Regions from separate parts of the Homo sapiens genome. Here region 1 is linked to region 2. The links are contacts of gene promoters, found by promoter capture Hi-C in human tissues and cell types (Jung and others, 2019). All regions are on one chromosome and are shown on one strand. Each heading gives the region's core, a stretch centred on a gene start or on the middle of the fragment in contact. The rest is flanking DNA. Distances are from core to core; before and after follow the strand shown.

What was found. The method cuts DNA at HindIII sites, captures the fragments that hold promoters and counts their contacts. A contact is called where the count stands out against the background at its distance.
Region 1: a contact is called between a fragment that was not itself captured here and the fragment with the promoter of IFT81 in region 2, in 1 of the 25 tissues and cell types used here (hippocampus).

What each region holds. Positions count from the first base shown.
Region 1 is chr12:110,519,114-110,523,021 of GRCh38, forward strand. It overlaps RAD9B (RAD9 checkpoint clamp component B), which reads left to right. Exons shown (of 11, transcript NM_001286535.2): 9 at 681-803; 10 at 3,064-3,298. Among named protein-coding and RNA genes, the nearest start is that of RAD9B, 19 kb to the left of the region's middle. The HindIII fragment of the contact is 3,878 bases long and covers 1-3,872 here.
Region 2 is chr12:110,122,467-110,126,322 of GRCh38, forward strand. IFT81 (intraflagellar transport 81) reads left to right here and starts at 1,891. Exons shown (of 19, transcript NM_014055.4): 1 at 1,891-2,395. RefSeq lists a silencer at 1,705-1,974. The HindIII fragment of the contact is 7,034 bases long and covers 2-3,856 here.

The sequences.
Region 1 (3,908 bases), core at 684-3,183, 400 kb after region 2:
TCTTTTTTCAGACGGAGTCTCACTCTGTCGCCCAGGCTGGAGTGCAGTGGCATGATCTCGGCTTACTGCAGGCTCTGCCTCCCGGGTTCAAGCAATTCTACTGCCTCAGCCTCCCAAGTAGCTGGGATTACGGGCGTCTACCACCATGCCTGGCTAATTTTTGTATTTTTGGTAGAGACGGGGTTTCACCATGTTGGCCAGGCTGGCCTTGAACTCCTGATTTCAAGAGATCCACCAGCCTCGGCCTCCCAAAGTGCTGGGATTACAGGCGTGAGCCATAGCACCCGGCCTACTGTTTGTTGTTGTTGTTGTTGTTGTTGTTGTTGTTGTTGTTGAGATGGAGTTTTGCTTTTGTTGCCCAGGCTGGAGTGCAATGGTGCAATCTCAGCTCACTGCAACCTCCGCCTCCCAGGTTCAAGTGATTCTTCTGCCTTAGCCTCTTGAGTAGCTGGGATTACAGGCATGCACCATCATGCCCGGCTAATTTTTTTTTTGTATTTTTAGTAGAGACGGGGTTTCTTCATGTTGGTCAGGCTGGTCTCAAACTCGCAACCTCAGATGATCCACCCGCCTTGGCCTCCCCTGTTTCTTTTTAGTCCAGAATTAAGTATCATTTCTAATGTGTTTCTAATGTCCATCAGAAAATGAGTGTCACTGTTGCTCTGACTTGGCTTTTTTAGACCTCTGGCTTTGAGTATTGATGATATGTTAGTGGAAGCTAACTTTATTTTGGCCACATTAGCTGATGAACAAAGTAGAGCATCTTCACCACAGTCACTGTGTCTTTCACAGAAACGAAAAAGGTAAGACTGTGTTTTAACTTCTTTATTACTTGGGACAAGCCATCATAATCTTATTTTGAAATAATTCACTTGCATTCACTTAGGAAACAATTGAGGAGTGAAATATTAGTTAACAAATTTTGACTGAATACAGAAGAGCTGTAGTGAAACTTACCTGTAGCATAGAAACATCACCAATCTCGTGTCAGATATTTGCTTTTTCTGTTCTGACCAGAATTGAACAAGACTGTCTGGTTTATCTGTGTTGTTTCCCAGAACTCAATTCCAATTTTTAGTTTTTGTTGTTGTTGTTGTTGTTGTTATTGTTTTAGACAAGGTCTCACTCCCATTGCCCAGGCTTGAGTGCTCTGGCGCAATCTCAAGTCACTGCAGCCTCCATTTCCCTGGCTCAAGTGGTCCTCCCACCTCAGCCTCCCAAGTAGCTGGGACTATAGGCATGTGCCACCACACCCAGCTAATTTTTTGTATTTTTTTTTGTAGAGACAGGGTTTCACCATGTTGCCCAGGCTGGTCTCAAACTTCTGGGCTGAAGCCATCCACCTGCCTCAGCCTCCCAAAGTGCTGGGATTACAGGTGTGAGTCACCACATCGGGCCTTTAGTTTTTTTTTTTGTTTTTTTTTAGGGGTAATATAGTGTTTTCACAGGAAAGTCTATATTCACTTCCTAGAACTTTTGCTCAGATATAGGGATAGCCATTGCTTTCTTGCTTTCTTTTTTTTTTTTTTTTTTGTTGTTTTTTTTTTGTTTTTTTGAGACAGAATCTCACTCTGTTGCCCAGGCTGGAGTGCAGTGGCATGATCTCAGCTCACTAAAACCTCCACCCCCTGGGTTCAAGCAATTCTCCTGCCTCAGCCTCCCTAGTCGCTGGGATGACATGTGTGCACTAACACGCCTGGCTAATTTTTGTGTTTTTAGTAGAGACGGGGTTTCACTATGTTGGTCAGGCTGGTCTCGAACTCCTGACCTTGTGATCTGCCCGCCTCAGCCTCCCAAAGCGCTGGGATTACAAGCATGAGCCACTGCGCCTGGCTTTTTTTTCTTTCTTAATTTCTTTTCTTTTGGGGGAAGAATGATGCTTTATTGTAAAAGTTATTTCAGGAAATTTGGAAAATAGAGAAAAGTACAAAGAAGAAAATAAAACTTACTCATAATTGCATCACCCAGAGATAGCCACTGTAACATTCTGGCTCACTGCATTTTCTTTCAGACTTAATTTTGTGTATACTTGTATTTTCAAATTTTTTAAAAAAATTTTTTGAGACAGGGTCTCACTCTGTCACCCAGGCTGGAGTGCAGTAGCACAGTCATAGCTCATCATAGTCTCAACCTCCCAGGCTGAAGCATTCCACCTCAGCCTCCTGAGTAACCAGGACTACAGGCACCTGCCACCACACCCAGCTAATTTTTGTGTTTTTTGTAGAGATCGGGTTTTACCATGTTGCCCAGGCTGGTCTCTTAACTCCTGGGCTCAAGCAGTCTACCTGCCTCGGCCTCCCAGAGTGCTAGGATTACAGATGTGAGCCACTGCACCCGGCCTATCCTTGTATTTTAAAACAAGATTAGGATCATAGAGCATATGCGGTTTTGGTATTGTGGGTGTGTTTCAATATCACTGATAATGACTTGAAAACATAATTCTTTTTTTTTTTTTTTTTTTGAGTCAGAGTCTCGCTTTGTCACCCGGGCTGGAGTGCAGTGGCGCCATCTCAGCTCATTGCAACCTCCGCCTCCTGGGTTCAAGCAGTTTTCTGCCTCAGCCTCCAGAGTAGCTGGGATTACAGGTGCCTGCCACCACGCCCGGCTAATTTTTTTGTATTTTTAGTAGAGACGAGGTTTCACCATCTTGGCCCTGCTGGTCTTGGACTCCTGACCTCGTGATCCACCCCCCTTGACCTCCCAAAGTGTTGGGATTACAGGCGTGAGCCACCGTGCCCGGCCGAAAACATGATTCTTAATGACTGTACACAATTTTATCATATAGATGTATAGTAATTTACTTGACTTTTCCCCTAACTTGCTCCTGTTACCATATCACAAGATATTCTATGCACAATGAGTTGCTTTACTGAAAGATTGTCTGTCAAGAGAATTTATAAATGATCATATATATAAATTTTAACTTGCAACAATTTAGTTCCATGTATTTCAATATATTCCCTAATCCAGTGCTATCATTGTCATCCCACATTGTCCATTAGTTATATAAAAATATATTTCACAATAAACAGTTCATTCATTTAATGCCTATTAATACCTCAGGTCAGATCTGATTGAAAAAAAGGCTGGCAAAAATGTAACTGGCCAGGCCCTGGAATGTATTTCAAAAAAAGCAGCACCAAGAAGGCTTTATCCTAAGGAGACTCTCACAAACATATCTGCATTGGAAAACTGTGGCAGCCCTGCAATGAAAAGAGTGGATGGAGATGTCAGTGAAGTATCAGAAAGCAGTGTCAGCAACACAGAGGAAGTGCCAGGGTCTCTGTGTCTCAGAAAGGTAAAAGCATTGAGATTCAACCACATCTCAGTCAAGAATTCTCATCTGTCTCCCTTTGCAGTCTTCCTCCCCAATCCCCACCCAGCCATGTTCTGAAAATTGATTTTCTTATTTTTTGATAGGGGAAAAGTGAAGCTAGTCTGAATTATAGAATGAAGAAAAGTCTGATAGAGAAAAGTCTGATTTACAGAATATCAATAGAAAATAGTTAAATTGTTCAGTCAGTAATTTCTAACAAAGCATATTCAAGTAGAGGTTTGGGTCACTTGTTTCCAAGAATAAATTATGATTTTTTTATGGTATATTCTATCTTGAATAACAATAATATGCTGAGATCATATAAATAATTTGTTTCCTAAAATGTTTCCTTCTAATTTTACTTTTCAAATTTGTTTGGTAAATCTTGTATTCATAATAGTACAAACGTAAATTTCATCCCAACAAATATCACAAATTCCTTCATAGTGGAGTCCCAGTTAATAACATCTTATTCTATAAGATAGATGATAAGCTTTACAGAATGCTGTAGTGTTAAACCTTACGAAATCTACTGAACTGAAGGTAAGCAATGTATTAGAAACTGAAGTATCTCAAATATTGATAATCCTAA
Region 2 (3,856 bases), core at 641-3,140:
TGTCTCCTAACACACCCAACAGGATCAATGAATTATATAATCCCTTCTACAAATCTTGTATTGTTTCTGTCAGTATTATGTAAGTTATTTAATTCTTTGAGGTTTTGAGTGTTGCTTCCCCTAATTGGTTGTGGGGTGGGGCCAGTTTTAGTTTCTCTCCAGGAGCCCTGCAGGGTACCTACGCTTGATATTTCAACAGTCAGAGGGCAGCCAACAAAGGGACTGGTCTTGGAATGTTGTGTTGCCTCTGCCCAAAACACTCTCCCTTTTCCTGTTTGGCTAATTTTTACTGATCCTTTTTAAGAGATGGGGGTCTCCTTCTGTTGCCCAGCCTGGAGTGCAATGGTGCCACCCCTGACCAATTTTTGCTTTTAATTTTTTGTAGAGAAAGGGTCTTGCTCTGTTACCCAGGCTGATCCTGAACTCCTGGGCTCAAAGTTATCTTGTTGCCTTGGTCTCTCAAAGTGCTGAGATTACAGGCGTGAGCCACGGTGCCAGGCCTAATTTTTACTGATCCTTAAACATCACTCCATTTGACAGAAACTTTCCTGATGGTATGGCCCCTTTGGCACCACCCTCCCCAAATAAACTTGAGGCCCTTAATCTGGGCTCCTAATCATTGGCTTCTCTTGTTACAGCATTTATCTCAATTGTATTGGTGTTGCCCCTTTAATAATCTCTGCCGGCACTAGACTGTCAGCTCCATCAGGGCAGGGGCCAGGTAAGTCCTGCCCTTCTGCATTTCCAGCAGCCTGTACAGTACAGGGCATATAGGAAATGCCTAATACGTAATCTGTTATTTTTTGTTGTGGTAAGTCTGATGCTAAAGCTATAGTTGGTTTCTCCTATGCTGTTTGAGCAGGCAACTAAGTTTTCAAGGTATCAATAATTTGATTTTTTTTCCTTCTCTTTCTTTCATTGCCAGCTGATATCACTAAGTATCGTGGTCTCTAGTCTAATAGAGGTTGGTTCAAAATACCATTTGCCAACTAAGGTCTCCCACAAACCAGCTAGTGCAAATTCCAGTAGACTTTTAAACCTCATCAGTGACTGGGCACAAAGATCTCCCTGCGTCCTGCGTGGGATGTGAACTCCATGAAGACCACAAGGAGGATTTAATTTATTTCTGCAGTCACCTAAAGAGAGCCCACTCAGAAGCCAAAGGAACATTAGGACACTTAGTTCTCCCACACCCCCTTTCAGGCTCTCAGCATACTCAAAACGTATTGGGTTTAAAAAAATTTAATTCCCAGTACAGGCAATGTGGCCCAGTAATGTGACACAGAAGCTGAAATCTCTATGATGAATGTGTCTTCTTTTAATCCTGCCAGAGCCTCACTACAATTGTTCCTATGCATAACCTAATTTGGAGATACTTATGTCAAAAACCTAAATTTGAAGCACTGGCCAAATGCTTGCTCATCCCAACCCCCCTACCACCCAGCCCTGCCTCAAAAACAAACAAAAATCATCACCCACGTTTGGCGCATGAATGCATGCATGCATGCATGAATGAATGAATGAATGAAACATCACACGCATTTAACATAGGTTAATCATGCAGAGAGTATTTTGTAAACTGCGAAGTGCAGGACTTTCGGGAAGCTTATTGTAGCGCGTCTAGGTCGGAGTAACAGTCCCAAATGCCCTCGGCTGTCTGCAGTGGCTCAGCACGTGGGCCCGCTTTGCAAGTAAGCCCGGCTCCCGTCCGCCCCGTCCGCCCCGCCCCGTCCCGCCCCGTCCCGTCCGCTCCGCCCCGCCCCGCCCCGTCCGCTCCGCCCCGCGCCCGTCCTCCCCGCCCTGGCCCGGCCCCGCCCCCCAGCTCGTGCGCGCGCGCGCGGGAGAGCGGCCGCTCGCCCGGAAGTGACGTAACTCTACGGCCTAGCAACCGTTGCCAAGGAGCTCGACTCTGGGAGCGGTCTAGAGCCCGGGCGCCTCCTGGGGGGTGGGGAAACGGTTTCGTGAGGAGAATTTGAGGTAACCTCGCCAACTCGCGGTCGGAAGCTCCTCTGAACCCCGAAATAGGAGAGAGCTCCCGTCCTCTCTCGGTCCTGATGCAGCACCTCGCAAGTGGAAGGGGTCGTCGCGGTTAAGCCCCCGGATAGGGGAATCGGGCCCCTTCTGGGATTCGAGCGGATCCAGGCCGCTCCCTGGAGGGATGAACTGTCGAGGGGCCCAGGGCAGCCCCCGCTAGAGGCCCGGTCGGGTGTGGGGTCCCCTGTCCCCTGTCCCGAGCCCGGGGAGGGGGACACTATTTCTGGTACTCCCAGGAGGCTGCGGGTCGATGCTCGTGCCAGCCTGGGACCCAGGCAGCACGGTTTCTCTCCCAAATTGTGCCAGAGAACACGCACGTCCTGGTTTTCATTGTTCCCCGCCTCCTGCGACTCGTTTGTGGGTGAGTGCTTGGGAATTAGCGCGGCGACTTCGCGCTAGAAGAGGGACAGTAATTGCTTTTGCTAATTTTAGAGCGCAGAGCCCGCTGGGCACAGACAGCCTTCCTGTTCAGTACATCTTTGTCCTTATCGAGTGACCATTTTTGCAGGCTGGTGGGCGACTTGGGGGGAACCCAACTGGTTTATTTTGCCTTCCTGGAAACGTTGTACTAGTTTATCCAGATTTTTTTTTAAGGGAAAAAAGAGTAGACCTATAGATAATTTCTAAATCATTTAAAATGAAATACATATTTCTGCACGCAAAGGTTATGACGTGGACTTTTACTTAAAATACTTTAAACAATGGAAAACTTGCACTTCCAATATGGATTTTAAAAAAAAACTTACGTAAAGGTTTTCCTTTTATAGCTTAAAGGAAACCTCAGATTTATTATAAGCCATGGTGGTTATCCTTCCTATCCTCTTTTGACTTATTTCTTAGCAATAATAATTATTTGTGCGTAATTTTTCATCATTGTGGAGAAATTATCTTTTTTATTTTATTTTTTCTGTTGAGACGGAGTCTCTCTCTGTCCCCCAGGCTGGAGTGCAGTGGCGCGATCTCGGCTCACTGCAACCTCCGCCTCCCGGGTTCAAGCAATTCTCCTGCCTCAGCCTCCCAAGTAGCTGGGACTACCGGCGCCCGCCACCACACCTGGCTAATTTTTGTATTTTTAGTAGAGACCGGGTTTCACCATGTTGGCCAGGCTGGCCTCGAACTCCTGACCTCAAGTGATCTGCCTGCCTCGGCCTCCCAAAGTACTGGGATTACAGGAGAGAACGACAGCTCCCGGCAGCAACTCATTGCTTAATTCATTTTTAATCCTTAAAGCATTTACCTAGGTAAAGCTGTTTCAGCAGTTAATAAATCAGATATTCAGTTTTTTAAAAAGTTATGATCTTTCTCACTGCCAGCCTGATTTCCTTTAGATTTAGGCTTATGTTGTACTTGTGCCTGTGAACAAGTTCATTCAATCTAGTGGAAGGAATCACTGTTTTAGACACAATGGATGTTCAAAAATGGAATTGGACACAGATACGGAATTTACAGTTTAGCAGGGAAGAGAAGATGCGTACCTAAAGAACTAGCACAAGATCGGCCAGGCGCGGTGGCTCACGCCTGTAATTCCAGCACTTTGGGAGGCCAAGGTGGGCGGATCACGAGGTCAGGAGATCCAGACCATCCTGGCTAACACGGTGAAACCCCGTCTCTACTAAAAATACAAAAAATTAGCCAGGCGTGCTGGCAGGCGCCTGTAGTCCCAGCTACTTGGGAGGCTGAGGGAGGAGAATGGCTTGAACCTGGGAGGCGGAGCTTGCAGTGAGCCAAGATCGCGCCACTGCACTCCAGCCTGGGCGACAGAGCGAGACTCCGTCTCAAAAAAAAAAAAAAAAAAAGCACAAGATCAAAAGTAGTGCTAGGA